Linked DNA regions of Homo sapiens: regions 1, 2 and 4 are each linked to region 3. The links are contacts of gene promoters, found by promoter capture Hi-C in blood cells and fetal thymus (Javierre and others, 2016). All regions are on one chromosome and are shown on one strand. The core of a region is centred on a gene start or on the middle of the fragment in contact, and the rest is flanking DNA. Distances in the headings are between cores, read along the strand shown.

The links. Contacts are between HindIII fragments. The CHiCAGO score rates a contact against its expected background, and 5 or more counts as called.
Region 1: a contact is called between a fragment that was not itself captured here and the fragment with the promoter of PYGB in region 3, in 6 of 17 cell types (monocytes, neutrophils, M2 macrophages and 3 more). The highest score is 9.1, in monocytes.
Region 2: a contact is called between a fragment that was not itself captured here and the fragment with the promoter of PYGB in region 3, in 1 of 17 cell types (neutrophils). The highest score is 5.6, in neutrophils.
Region 4: a contact is called between a fragment that was not itself captured here and the fragment with the promoter of PYGB in region 3, in 1 of 17 cell types (monocytes). The highest score is 6.8, in monocytes.

What each region holds. Positions count from the first base shown.
Region 1 is chr20:24,974,508-24,977,696 of GRCh38, reverse strand. The region is part of intron 3 of APMAP (adipocyte plasma membrane associated protein); the gene reads left to right. Among named protein-coding and RNA genes, the nearest start is that of APMAP, 17 kb to the left of the region's middle. The HindIII fragment of the contact is 2,696 bases long and covers 1-2,601 here.
Region 2 is chr20:24,956,432-24,959,446 of GRCh38, reverse strand. It overlaps CST7 (cystatin F), which reads right to left. Exons shown (of 4, transcript NM_003650.4): 2 at 1,988-2,160; 3 at 403-519. Among named protein-coding and RNA genes, the nearest start is that of CST7, 8.7 kb to the right of the region's middle. The HindIII fragment of the contact is 2,759 bases long and covers 122-2,880 here.
Region 3 is chr20:25,246,437-25,249,396 of GRCh38, reverse strand. PYGB (glycogen phosphorylase B) reads right to left here and starts at 1,312. Exons shown (of 20, transcript NM_002862.4): 1 at 976-1,312. The coding sequence starts at 1,218. RefSeq lists silencers at 669-1,048, 1,359-1,548, 1,559-1,748, 1,929-2,008, 2,027-2,280 and an enhancer at 1,199-1,278. The HindIII fragment of the contact is 3,937 bases long and covers 1-2,756 here.
Region 4 is chr20:25,686,741-25,689,929 of GRCh38, reverse strand. The region is part of intron 1 of ZNF337 (zinc finger protein 337); the gene reads left to right. Among named protein-coding and RNA genes, the nearest start is that of ZNF337, 8.5 kb to the left of the region's middle. The HindIII fragment of the contact is 4,376 bases long and covers 1-3,189 here.

The sequences.
Region 1 (3,189 bases), core at 4-2,503, 270 kb after region 3:
GCACTTTCCTGTCTTTTTCTTTTTCACTGGGTTACTTCTCATTGTACTTTGTCACCAGGTCCCAGCTTTTTCTCTTTCTTTGATGAGCTGGTGACATTTCTTGGCCAGGCACAGTGGGGTCCTCTCTGGTGGGTGTGAGCCGCAGGGACCTGCCACTGCTGTCTCTGCCACCTCATTTGGAAGCTGTCCTGGGGGCTGGCTGGCAGGTTGCTGACAGTGGAAGGAGGTACTAGCTCTGGGGAGTGCTGGGAGAGAGTAACCACCAACTATAGCAGGCTTTATTTTATTTGTTTTTAAGTAGACTTTATTTTTAAGAGCAGTTTTAGGTTCACAGCAAAATTGAGCAGAAGGTACAGAGATTTTCTGAAAAAGAGTTTTTATTACGATTGGGTGTTGCATTTCGTCAAATACTTTTTCTGCACACATGCCATGCACAGCCTCCCACATGATCAACATCCCCCACCACAAGGGTAAGTTTGTTACAAGTGATGTACTCACATCAATACGTCAATAGTACTCGGAGTCTGTAGTTTACGGTAGGGTTCACTCTTGGTTTTATACATTCTATGGGTTTGGACAAATGCCATGTATCCACTGTTATGGTATCTTACAGGGTGTTTTCACTGCCCTGAAAATCCTCTTTGCTCTGCCTGTTCATTCCACCCTTTTCTTTTAACCCATGGCAACCACTGATCTTTTTGCCATCTCCATAGTTTTGCCTTTTCCAGAATGTTATGTAGCTGGACTCATACAGTATGTAGCCTTTTCAGATTGGCATCTTTCACTTAGTAGTATGCATTTATTTAAAATTCCTCCATGTCTTTCCATGGGTTGATAGCTCATTTCTTTTTAGCACTGAGTAATATTCCATTGTATGGATGTGCCACAGTTTAGTTACCTACTGAAGTACATCTTGGTTGCTGCTAAGTTTTGGCAGTTATGAATAAGGCTGGTATAAACATCTGTGGGCAGGTTTTTGTGTGGACCTAAGTTTTCAGCTCATTTGGGTAAATACCGAAAAGCATAATTGCTGGATTGTATGGTAAGAGTTAAGTTTTGTAAGAAACCACCAAGCGTTTCCAAAGTGGCTGTACCATTTGCCTTCCCATTAACAATTAGTGAGAGTTCCTGATGCTCCATGTCCTCGCCAGCATTTGGTGGTGTCAGTGTTTTGGATTTTGGCCCTTTTAATAGGTGTATAGTGGTGTCTCGTTGTTTTAATTTGCATTTCTCTGATGATATTTGATGTGGAATATCTTCATATGCCTACCTGCCATCTGTATATCTTCTTGGTGATGTGTCTGTTCAGGCCTTTTGCCCATTTTTGTAATTGGGTTGTTCATTTTCTTATTGTTGAGTTTTAAGAGTTGTTTGTGTATTTTGGATAATAGTTCTTTATCAGACATGTTGTTTGCCAATATTTTCTCCAGTCTGTGGCTTCTCATTCTTTTGACAGTATCTTCTGTAGAGCAAGAGTTTTTAATTTTAATGAAGTTTCACTTATTAATTATTTCTTCATGTATCTCACCTTGGTTTTATATCTAAAAATTCATCATCATACCCTAGGTGTTATATCTAAAAATTCATCATCATACCTAGATTTTCTCCTATGTTCTAGGAATTTGTTTTGTATTTTATATTTAGGTCTATGATCCATTTTGAATTCCATTTTTGTGAAGGGTATAAGGTTTGTGTCTAGATTTATTTGTTTGCATGTGGATGCAAACAAATTTGTTCCAGCACCATTTGTGGAAAACACTGTCTTTTCTCCATTATGCATTGCCTTTACTCCTTTGTCAAAAGATCAGTTGATTGTATTTATGTGGGTCTGTCTCTGGGCTAAAAATTTTATCTGTTCTATTGATTTATTTTTCTATTCTTTTGCTAATACCACATTGTCTTGATTACTGTAGCTTTATAGAGAATCTTGAAGTTGAGTAGTTTCAGTCCTCTGACTTTATTCTTTTCCTTCAATATTGTATTGGATATTTTGAGTCTTCGCCCTCTCCATATGAACTTTAGGATTCATTTGTCTGTATCTACAAAATAACTTGCTGGGATTTTGATTGGGATTGCATTGAATCTATAGATTAAGGTTGGGAAAAACTGACATCTTGACAATATTGAGTATTCCTGTCCATGAACATGGAATATCTCTCCATTTATTTAGTTCTTTGATTTCTTTCATCAGAATATTCTAGTTTTCCTCATATAGACCTCGTGTATATTATATTATATTTATACCTAAGTATGCCAATCTTTTGGATGCTAATGTACATAGTATTGTGTTTTCAATTCCAAATTCCATTTGTTCATTGTTAGTATAAAGGAAGGTGAGTCAATATCTTGCAATATCCTGCAACCATGCTATAATTGCTTGGTTCCAGGAGGGTTTTTTGTTGTTGTTGATTCTTTCAGATTTTCTATCTAGACAATTATGTCACTTGCAAACAAAGAAAGTTTTATTTCTTTCTTCTCAATCTGTATACCTTTTGTTTCCTTTTCATGTCTTACTGCATTAGCTAGGTCTTCAAGTATGATACTGAAAAGGAGTGGTGATAGGGGCATCTTTGCCTTGTTCTTGATCTTAGCAGGAAAGCTTCTAGTTTGTCATCCATAAGTATGATGTTATATGTAGATTTTTTTATAGATATTCTTGATCAAGTTAAGAAAGTTTCCCCTCTACTCCCAGCTTGCTGAGAGTTTTTAATCATGAATGGGTGTTGGATGTTACTAGATGTTTTTTTCTGTATCTGTTGATATGATCATGTGATTATTCTTGTTTAGATTGTTGAAGTCTCTAACTGTGATAGTGGATTCTGTTTCTCCTTGCAGTTTCATCAGTTTTTGCCTCACATATTGGTGCTCTATTGTGAAGCATATACACATTAAAGGTTCTTATGTTTTTTTGAGGCATTGACCCCTTTGTCATTGTGTGATGCTCCTCTTTATCCCTGATAACTTTCCTTGGTCTGAAGTGTTCTCTGTCTGAATTTAATACAGCTATTCTGGGTTGCTTTTGGTTAGTGTTAACATGATGTACTTTCTTCATCCCTTCACTTTTAATCTATATATGTCTTTATATTTAAAGTGGGTTTCTTGTACACAACATAGAGTTGGGTCTTGTTTTTTGAATAATTCTGGCAATGTCTCTCTTTCAGTTGGTATATTTAGACCATTTATGTTTAA
Region 2 (3,015 bases), core at 252-2,751, 290 kb after region 3:
ATGTTGCTGTGTTCCCGTTCTCTTGCTCTCTCTGCAGAGATATGCTATATATGATATACATATGATACATATCATATGTATGTATATGATACATATATAATTTCTGGATTGTTTGAAAGCTTTTCTTACTCTAACCCTCTCCACTCGCACCCCAGGACGCTCTTCCAGAGCTGTGTCTCCGCCTCTGGGACGGGAGGATGTCATCTGAGGAGCTCCTGGCACAGGCTCTACCTCCTGTTCTCCCGGATCCTCAGTCGTGCGGGAGTCTGGGAGGCCTGGCTTCCTCAGGGGTGAGGTTTGGGGCGCTGCGTTAGAGACGTGGTGACGGTGTTTTTCACAGTCCTGGGAGGGAGTGGGCTGGGGAAGAGAGGGCACATCTGAGAGAAGGGCCTGCTGCTTTACCTGCTTCAAGGTGTGGTTGGTTTGGAAGTCACAGTCATCCAGACGCAGGTGCTGGTTTTTCTTGCAGGTAGTTCTGCCAATTTCCACCTCCAGCATATATTTCAGGCCTTTCACTATCTGGAGGGAGCAAAGGGACTGGGTTACTGGGCACAGGGGAGGGAGGGCAGGCTTCTCCACTAGGAAGCAGGGCCTCAAGACAGTGGTGCAGGTGCCCACCGAGGAGAAGGGAAGTGGGCCAGCATCTTGGGGCAATGCTTCGGGCTTACGGCAGAGCCTGCAGACCCCTCCCACTCCCCTCCCTGCCCCGTGCTGGGTTTGTGCCCCTTCCTGAGACAGATGTCTCCTTTCTGGCCAGAGCTCTGCACTCAGGAGGGACGTCACACTAGGTCTCCTGCATGCCCTGCTGGGCCCGCCCTGCAGCCCTCACTCCAGCCCCATGATGGCTGTTTCTTGTGGCCTCTGTGTCAGGCCTGGGGTCTGCGGGCTTCCCCTCTCCATTCCTGGGGTCGGGAGTTTTGAGTTTCTGGACAGCCCTTCTCCACTTGGATATGGCAGCCGCCTTGTTCATTCTCATTTGTGGTCTTAGAGGAGTTGAAGAAAAATTCCTCAGGTTTTAGTCTCAGCTTTAGGGGAATTACGTTGTCCCCAATATCACCAAGCTAGAGAGAGACAACCTCCAAGTCCCCTCCCAGAGAACCCCAAGGACTCAGAACCAGGGCATCCCACTGGCCTACCCGGAGAAGGAGGGAGGGCCTGCATCACCCAGGGAAGATCCCCTGTCCCTGAGGCCAGGCTGCAGAGCGAGGACCCTGGCTACACACCCACGATTCTCATATGAAAACATGCTGTCCTTCACAAGTTTGCAATTGTCAAAAATAATTAGGTTATAAAAATCACCCCTCCCTGTGACCCAGCATAACCATGAACACTGTGAAGACTGCCTTGGACAGGGCTGCTTCTGCCCCTTACAGGCACCAGCACACGGTGGTGGGTGTCATCCACAGCCTGCATCCCACATTAGCAAGTGGGTGTTCTCAGGACACAGACAAGGGTCCTCTAGGAGGGAGGGTGCTGAGCGGGCGCAGTAGGAATGAGTCAGGGAAAGGGCAGTGGCTTGGGCAGAGCTCTTGGACTCTGGGATGTGAGTGAGCACTCCAGGGGGAAAGTGGCAAAGACACCTCTGGGCTGCAGGGCACGTGAGGGGTGAGGCCGGGTGAGGACCCTGGTCCCAGCAGGGGCAGCTCCTCGGACAGCGGCTTTCTCCCCCATCAGCCTTGGCGCCTGCCTCAGGAGCCCCATTAGGGCCCTGGCACCTCCTTACCCCATGCCTAGTAGGCTCTGGGCCAGGGGCCTGGTAACCACCCAGGAGCCGTGTGCTTTGTGTAACCTTTGCGCTTGGCCCTGGGGGATGCTGGCCTCAGCTGCTGCTGTCCACTCCCACCCCTTGTGCATCTGCTTTCTGCTCAGAGCTCTGCACTCAGCAGGGACTTCACATTATATCCGCCCTGCTCTCCTAGGTGTCGCGTTGTAGCAGCTCGGCTTCCTAGGGGTGTCCGTGATATGTGACCAGAACCCAGACCGTTACCTGAACTAGGGCCCTTGTGATGCGGGACTCCTTGAACAAGAACATGTCGTTCGTGCAGTTGTTGAACTTTTCAACACTGTATCTGGCTGCTTGGAGGACTCCTGGGTCATTGGTCTTTATTGTTTTAGGAAATCCTGGCTTCACACGTGAGTTAAGGTCCTGGGAACAAGTATCTGAAAGAGACAAAGAGCCAGACAAGAACACTGATGTTAGTGGGGCCTTCAGTCCAGGTGTCACGCCTCATGCCTCTGTGATGCTCAGTTCTCTGCTGGCGTGTGTGTCCTGGCCCTACCCACCCCTCACCTGCTCCCCCTCTTACCTACCCCTGTCACCTGTCCCTGCTTACCTGCCCCCACCCTACCCACCCCTAACCTGCCCCCCTCACCTGCCCCCTCACCTGTTCTCCCTCACCTGCCCCCTCTCACCTGCTCCCCTCACCTGCCCCCCTCACCTGCCCCCTCACCTGTCCCCCCCGACACCCCTGCAGTGCATTTATTGCTCCATTTTCAGAGCTGAGGACCAGGTGCCAGGGGGTGCAATGAACCTGTCCCCCACTTTCAGAACCCAGGGTTATTTCCAACGTAAGTGTTAAAAGCGGAACATGTCCCACAGGTGAGATCCTCAGTACGGGATGTAGCCTTAGGATGTAGGGAAAGTCAACCCCAGCCTGGCCCTCTGGGCGGTAGATGGAGGTAGTGCCTCCCACCGGAAGGAGATGGCGCCGTCCTCGTCTCAAGACCTTTTGCCCGCCTGGCTCTCAGTCTCAGGCCCAGCCCCCAGGAGGGCACCCCTCCTGGCAGCCTGCAGCACTTGGTACCCCTGCGCTGCCTCCTGACTTTCCAGGGACAGTCTTTTTCACTCCTATGAGTGACAGTGCACTGTGTCCCCAAGCTTCGTTGGGGTCGGGGAGGCCTGCCCTTCCTGTACCAAGGAGGGCTATATTTGGATAAAAGATGGGGAAGCAGCATCGGGGGCCTCCCCCACAGTCATGTCCCCTAGTATCTGTGCCTGAGGCTGCAGGACGTGCG
Region 3 (2,960 bases), core at 63-2,562:
TAAAAGCAAACGACAACAACAAAAAACTGGCAACAGGGGGCTGTGCAAGACTACCATGTACCTATCAAACTGAAAACTACCATCCTATCCATTGACCTGCAAAGCTGTTTATCAGTGAAAAAGTTACAAATGTTTACGAATGAAACAGAAAATCTAAAAAACTGTATGTGCATTATACTTTTTAAAAATGTGTATGTATATTTAGGAATACCAAAAACACAGCAAGAACACAGGCCCATAGTAAACATGGTTAAGAGTAACGGGGACAATCAGTGACTTTGTTTCACTACTCAAACAAATTTTTGCAAGATATAAAAAGTAACAATTAGTAAGATGATCTCTGTCAACTTCAACCCAAGCAAATTTCTCCAAGGGAGGTGTGGGAACCTCTAAGACAGAGCCTTCTTCGAGGGCTCCATCTCCATCTCTGAGCTTCGTACCCCTCCCTGCGTGAAGCAGGCATCTTCAGTGATTTTCTTCTAAGCAGCGTACACAAAAAAAAGTCTCACAATTCCCTGCAGATTACCGAGCTCACCCCATTCCAACCCACAAGGCTGCCCAGGCCTGGTTCCAGTCCCATTTTCTCCCACAGGCTGCTGCAGGAAAACAAAGAGTGGCTGGAGGCAGGGGCGGGGAGCACCGGCTCTGCAGCCAGCGCGGAAGCGCACGGCCAGAAAGAGACCGGGAACGTCCGCCAGGCTCCCGGGCTCAGCATCATCTGCGGGGGACGGCGGACCCCGCCAGGCGCGGGCTCCCAGTGGGGCGGACCCGTGGCCGCGGCCCTGCGCAGGGGACGCCCGGGCCCCGCCGACTGCGGCTTCCAGGCGACTCCCCAGTCGGCTGTGCCTGGCCGCCGGCCGGCTAGGGGCGCAGGTAACGCCCGACGGGCCGCCCCGCAGAGACCCCCGCTGGCGCGGCTCCGGGACCGGCGCCCTCTCAGCGGGCACGGGCGCACAGGGCGGGGCAGCGCCTCACCTTGGGGTCGCGCTCGTAGTAGTGCTGCTGCGTGCGGATCCAGCGGCCCACGAGGTGGTCGCGCACCGTGTGCGCCAGCGCGAAGAAGTAGTCGCGGGGCGTGGCCACATTGCGGTCCTTGACCAGCGTGAAGTGCAAGTGCCGGTTGAAGCTCTTCCGCACCTCGGCCACGTCGCCTAGCCCCGCCAGGCCGCGCACGCTGATCTGCTTCCGCTTCTCGCTGTCCGTCAGCGGCTTCGCCATCGCGCCGGCGGAGGCGGAGGAAAAGAGATGGAGGAGGAAAGCGGCGGCACACGCGAACGCCGGGATGGTGCAGCTGCTCTGGCGCCGCTGCTCTGGCGCCCGGCACTGCGGCTCTGCGGGCGGGATGGACCGCGCCTGCGCGCCGCGCCGGGGCGGGGCCTCGGGGGGCGGGGCGGGGCCTCGGGAGGGCGGGGCGGGCGTCCAGGCTCATAGCTGAGATCTCTGGTGTAGTCCGAGGCGGCAGCGACCTGTCCACGCCACCTGAGCGTGGTGTTTGCCCCCTCGTTGGGCAAGCCCGGCAGAAAGTGGGAGCGACTGGAGGGGGCAAGGGACCCGGGGCCTCGGAGCGTGCCGTCGTGGCCGCTCCTGCCAGCCCGGGGACGGTGCGGGAAGGGGGCCCTGCCCTCCGGCCCTCGGGTTCCTGGGACCGGCCCTCCCGCCCTGCACCGGGTCACCAGGTGCCCCGCGGGAGCGCGCTGGGCTCGGGCTGTGGCCGAGACCTGGTACACGTTCGGGGAAACTGATTACAGCTTGAAAGGCATCCACCAACGCCTGCTGGGCCCGGTCTTCTCTGTCCGGGGCAGGGCGGCTCTGAAAATACCAGCTATTTGCTTGCCACTCCAGGCCGATGACAGACGTGGAGAAAACCAGCTGCCAGCGAGCTGGAGACGCCCGTTCCCGAGGGCGCGAGGCAGCCACAGCCAAATGCCACCACGACCCCGCCTCGGAGGGACCGCAGCCCCCTAGCCCTCGGAGAAACCCTGTTCCCGAAACCACCTGGCAGACGCTGTCCGCTTTGAGATTACAGCAGGGAGAAGGAAACATGCCCGTCTGGCCGGGGAGCTCAGCCACTAACCGAGACTTAGCCTCTGTCATCCCAATCCAGGCTGCAGCTCCAGATAGGGGGCGTCTGCACACAGCTTCCCACACTTGGCCCCGCGGAACACAGTCCTGCTGGCCTCAGCCTGTGGGAACCCTGCTTCATGTAAAGGTCACCTAAACTCTGCCTTCCCTCAACCCCTTCAAACTCTGCCTTTCCCTTCGTTCTTGGGAGGCGCTCCCTCATTGCAGTGGGTCAGTACACCCGATTTTGTGGACCACAGGTTTGCTCCTGGTGGTCTTGGGCTGAAGGGGCTGCAAAGGTTACTGAATTTCGTGGAGGTAAAAATTGCCCGCAGGAAATGTCATGAAAGTCCAGGTGCAGTAGGTTTCCTGGTGTGATGCTTCAAAGTTATCTTCTTACCTGGAGCCCCTTCCAGCTGCAGACTTCAGAGGTCGGAGGTTAATCAATCTGGAATGACCCCACAGCCCACCCAGCTCCAGCTCGGGATTCACTCCTGCACTATGTCCTAGGGATTCTGGAGCCAACAAGATCGAACTTCGGGCACAGATGGCAGGGCTGTGGGGTCGAGCTTGGCTGCAAGCTCCGAACACTGATGCAATCTCTCTGAGGGTGATCTGGCAATTCAGAAGTCATAAAAATGATAGTGCCCTATGACCACTTCTACCACTCTGGGGAATTGAGTTCAAGGAAAGCTTAAGAAGACAAAAAGCAAGTTATGCAAATATGTTATCTGCTGTGGTGTGGTAAAGTTTAATCCCCCAGCTGTGGTGCACACCTGGCAAAGAATGGAGGCGCTGACACTTATTGATCATTACTTGCAGTGTACACGTATTAACTCCTGATCCCTGCAAATAGCCTGCTATTACCCCCGCTTGACAATGGAGAAGGTGAGCCACAG
Region 4 (3,189 bases), core at 44-2,543, 440 kb before region 3:
TCAAATGAAGTTAGCTCCTATAAGATTATTTTAGCCAATTTTTTGGTAAGCATAGAATTAGCAATATGATTAATGCTTTTTCTGTAAACTAGTGTTATGAAAAATCTCAAATGGGTAGCAAAATTGGGAGATGGTAATAGGAATCCCCATGTTGCCTTCATCCAGATTTGATCATTTTAAAACCATGGGTAGTTCTGTTAGATTTATCCCTTCCCCCTGTTTATGTGCCAAAGTATTTCAAACAAATCCAGATGTCTTGTTATTTTACCCATATATACTTGATCTCTGAGAGGATTTTTAATCAGTGTTGAGGTGTAACTTGCATACCGTAAGAAGCACTGCTTTTAACTGTATAATGAGTTTTGACTCTTTAAAGTATACACAGGTCACTTATCACCTCAATCAAGATACAGAACATTTCAACAAGAGTTCTCATGTGCCCTTACATGTAATCATTCCAGAGGAAAATAGTCAAGAATTCTCACCAAAATATGGACAAGTAGTATCCAGCAATACATGAAAAGGATGATATATTCTAGCCAAATAGAGTTTGTTCCCAAAAAACCGAGGATAGAGTGAACATAGAGTAAGCAACCTGTGGAGATATTTAACTTTTTTTTTTTCTTGATGCGGAGTCTTGCTCTGTTGCCCAGGCTGGAGTGCAGTGGCACGGTCTCCGCTCACTGCAAGCTCTGCCTCCCACGTTCACACCATTCTCCTGCCTCAGACTCCTGAGTAGCTGGGACTACAGGCGCTCGCCACCACACCCGACTAATTTTTTTTTTTTTTTTTTTTGTGACGGAGTCTCACTCTTGCTCAGGCTGGAGCGCAGTGGCGCGATCTCGGCTCACTGCAAGCTCTGCCTCCCGGGTTCACGCCATTCTCCTGCCTCAGCCTCCCGAGTAGCTGGGACTACAGGCGCCGCCACCACTCCCGGCTATTTTTTGTATTTTTTTGTATTTTCAGTAGAGACGGGTTTCACGGTGTTAGCCAGGACGGTCTCAATCTCCTGACCACGAGGAGGAGGCCCGCCTCAGCCTCCCAAAGTGCTAGGATTACAGGCGTGAGCCACCGCGCCCGGCAGAGATACTTACCCTTACTTAACCTATCTGTAGTTCTCCGCTTAGGAACAAAAGGAAAGGTAGCTTCTTGGATGAATCAGCTTTCAGCTTAATATTTTTCTTTTGGCAGAGTGGTTTGGGTTCCAACGTTTTTATTTTCCTTTCACTGCTTTCAGGGAGCAAAAGAGAAAAACCTACATTACTATCTTAATGCAGAAAAATACTTGATAACATTTCACACCTATTCAGGGTAAAAATTCTCAGTAAATGAGGAATAGAAAGAATTTCCCTTAATGAAACAAAGGTTATGTGTGACAGCCTGGCTGCAATCATCATATTTAATGGTGAAGTGTGTTCACACTAAGATCAGGAACAAGCATTAATGTTGATTCTTATCACTCTTATTTAGCATTATCCTAGAATAACTAGCTAACCTGTTAAGGTATTAAAAAGGAATAAAAGGCATAAACGTTGAAACAGAAAAAAAAATTTTTTATTCACAGAAGATGTGAGTATGTACATGGAAGAATAGTTAAACAACTAGATACTAGTAACACACAGTTTAGGAACTTCAGAAAATAAGGTCAGTATTTTTAAAAAGCACTTGTATTTCTGTAACCTAGCAGCAAACAGTTAAAAAATGAAATACATATTTATACTACCATCAAAAACAACATATTTAAACTTCTAAGAGTAAATGTAGGGGAATATCTTTGTGACTTTGGAATAGGTAAAGATAGCACAGATGGGACATGAAAGGTAAACTATTTATGTAAGTATATAGAAAGAAATAACAAAAATGTTTTAAATCACCTTTCAACTGCCGTCAGAGGAAGAAATTTCACTGTTTTTCTTCTCCAACTACATGTAAACCAAAAAGTATCAGAGTCAAGTACCAATTTAGATGTTTATTTTGCCACAGTTGAGGACATGCCACAGAAAGAGGCCAGTGGCTTTCCCCAAAGATGAGTTTGAGAGCCTCATTGTTTAAAAAGGAAAAGTAGGCTGGAGGGGAAAGAGGAAAGGTGTGGTAATCCACCTGTGACAAGAGAAAAGGAGCAGGTAGGAAAATAGTTATGCATTCATCTCACACTCAGTAAATCAGCACTTTACATAAGATACGGTGTGCATAGAGTAGCTACTATGGAGATATTTAACGTTTTATCTGTAGCTATCTCCTTAAGAACAAAAGGAAAGGCAGCTTCTTGCATGACTTAGCTTTCAGCTTAATGTTTTTCCTTTTGGCAGAGTGGACTGGGGTCCCTAGTTTTATTTTCTTTTCATAACACCATAGTATTTGTTCACTTCTGTCTCAAAGTTACTGGCTAGTGGATGTATGCTGTGTTCATCATAATCACCACATGATAGCATCTTTGTTCCTTCACATTTCCTTCTTTTCACCCCTATATGTCTGTGTTTTTAATTTTATTTTTTTAGTCAAAACATTCACTTAAAAGTATAGTGAATACTCTAATGAAATCATTACACCCACCACTTTAATTTACAGTTCTTTTCCTGTATTTCTACTGGAATTTTTTTCAAAAAATTCGGAGAAAATAATATAATGAACCCAGTACACATTATTCAGTTCTAAAAATTATGAAGTGTGGCCAGTAATGCTCAATTGACTTTTGAGGGTGAGAAGGGGTGTTTAAGCACATCCAGACATCATTTTCACTCATGAATGTTCCAAAAGTTTGTATACAAGGAAGGGCTCATGTTTTTAAAACCCAAAATACTTTTATAACAACAAAATTAATGTTTGATAATCTAATATCCAATTAGTGTTCAGATTTCACTGGCTGTTAATACTCCTCACATATTCTTTGTTGCAATCAGGATCCAAATTGCATTGGATCACTCATTGCCTTAGATTAACCATGTGTCTGAGGACTTTTATTCCTGACAGCTCACACTCCCCATGCTATTAATTTGTTAAAGGCTTTGGTGTTGTACAGTACTGAATAACTGCCAATGCCATCTGCCTGTGGCCTTCTCAAGTTTGTCTGCACCTGTGGTTATCCTGACTTCAAACCCGGGGAGACAGAGGCTAGAAGAGGCAGACAGCTCTTGTGTATTCTGTCCAGTGCAAAGAACACCTGGAACTCTGAGCCCTAACCTTAAATGC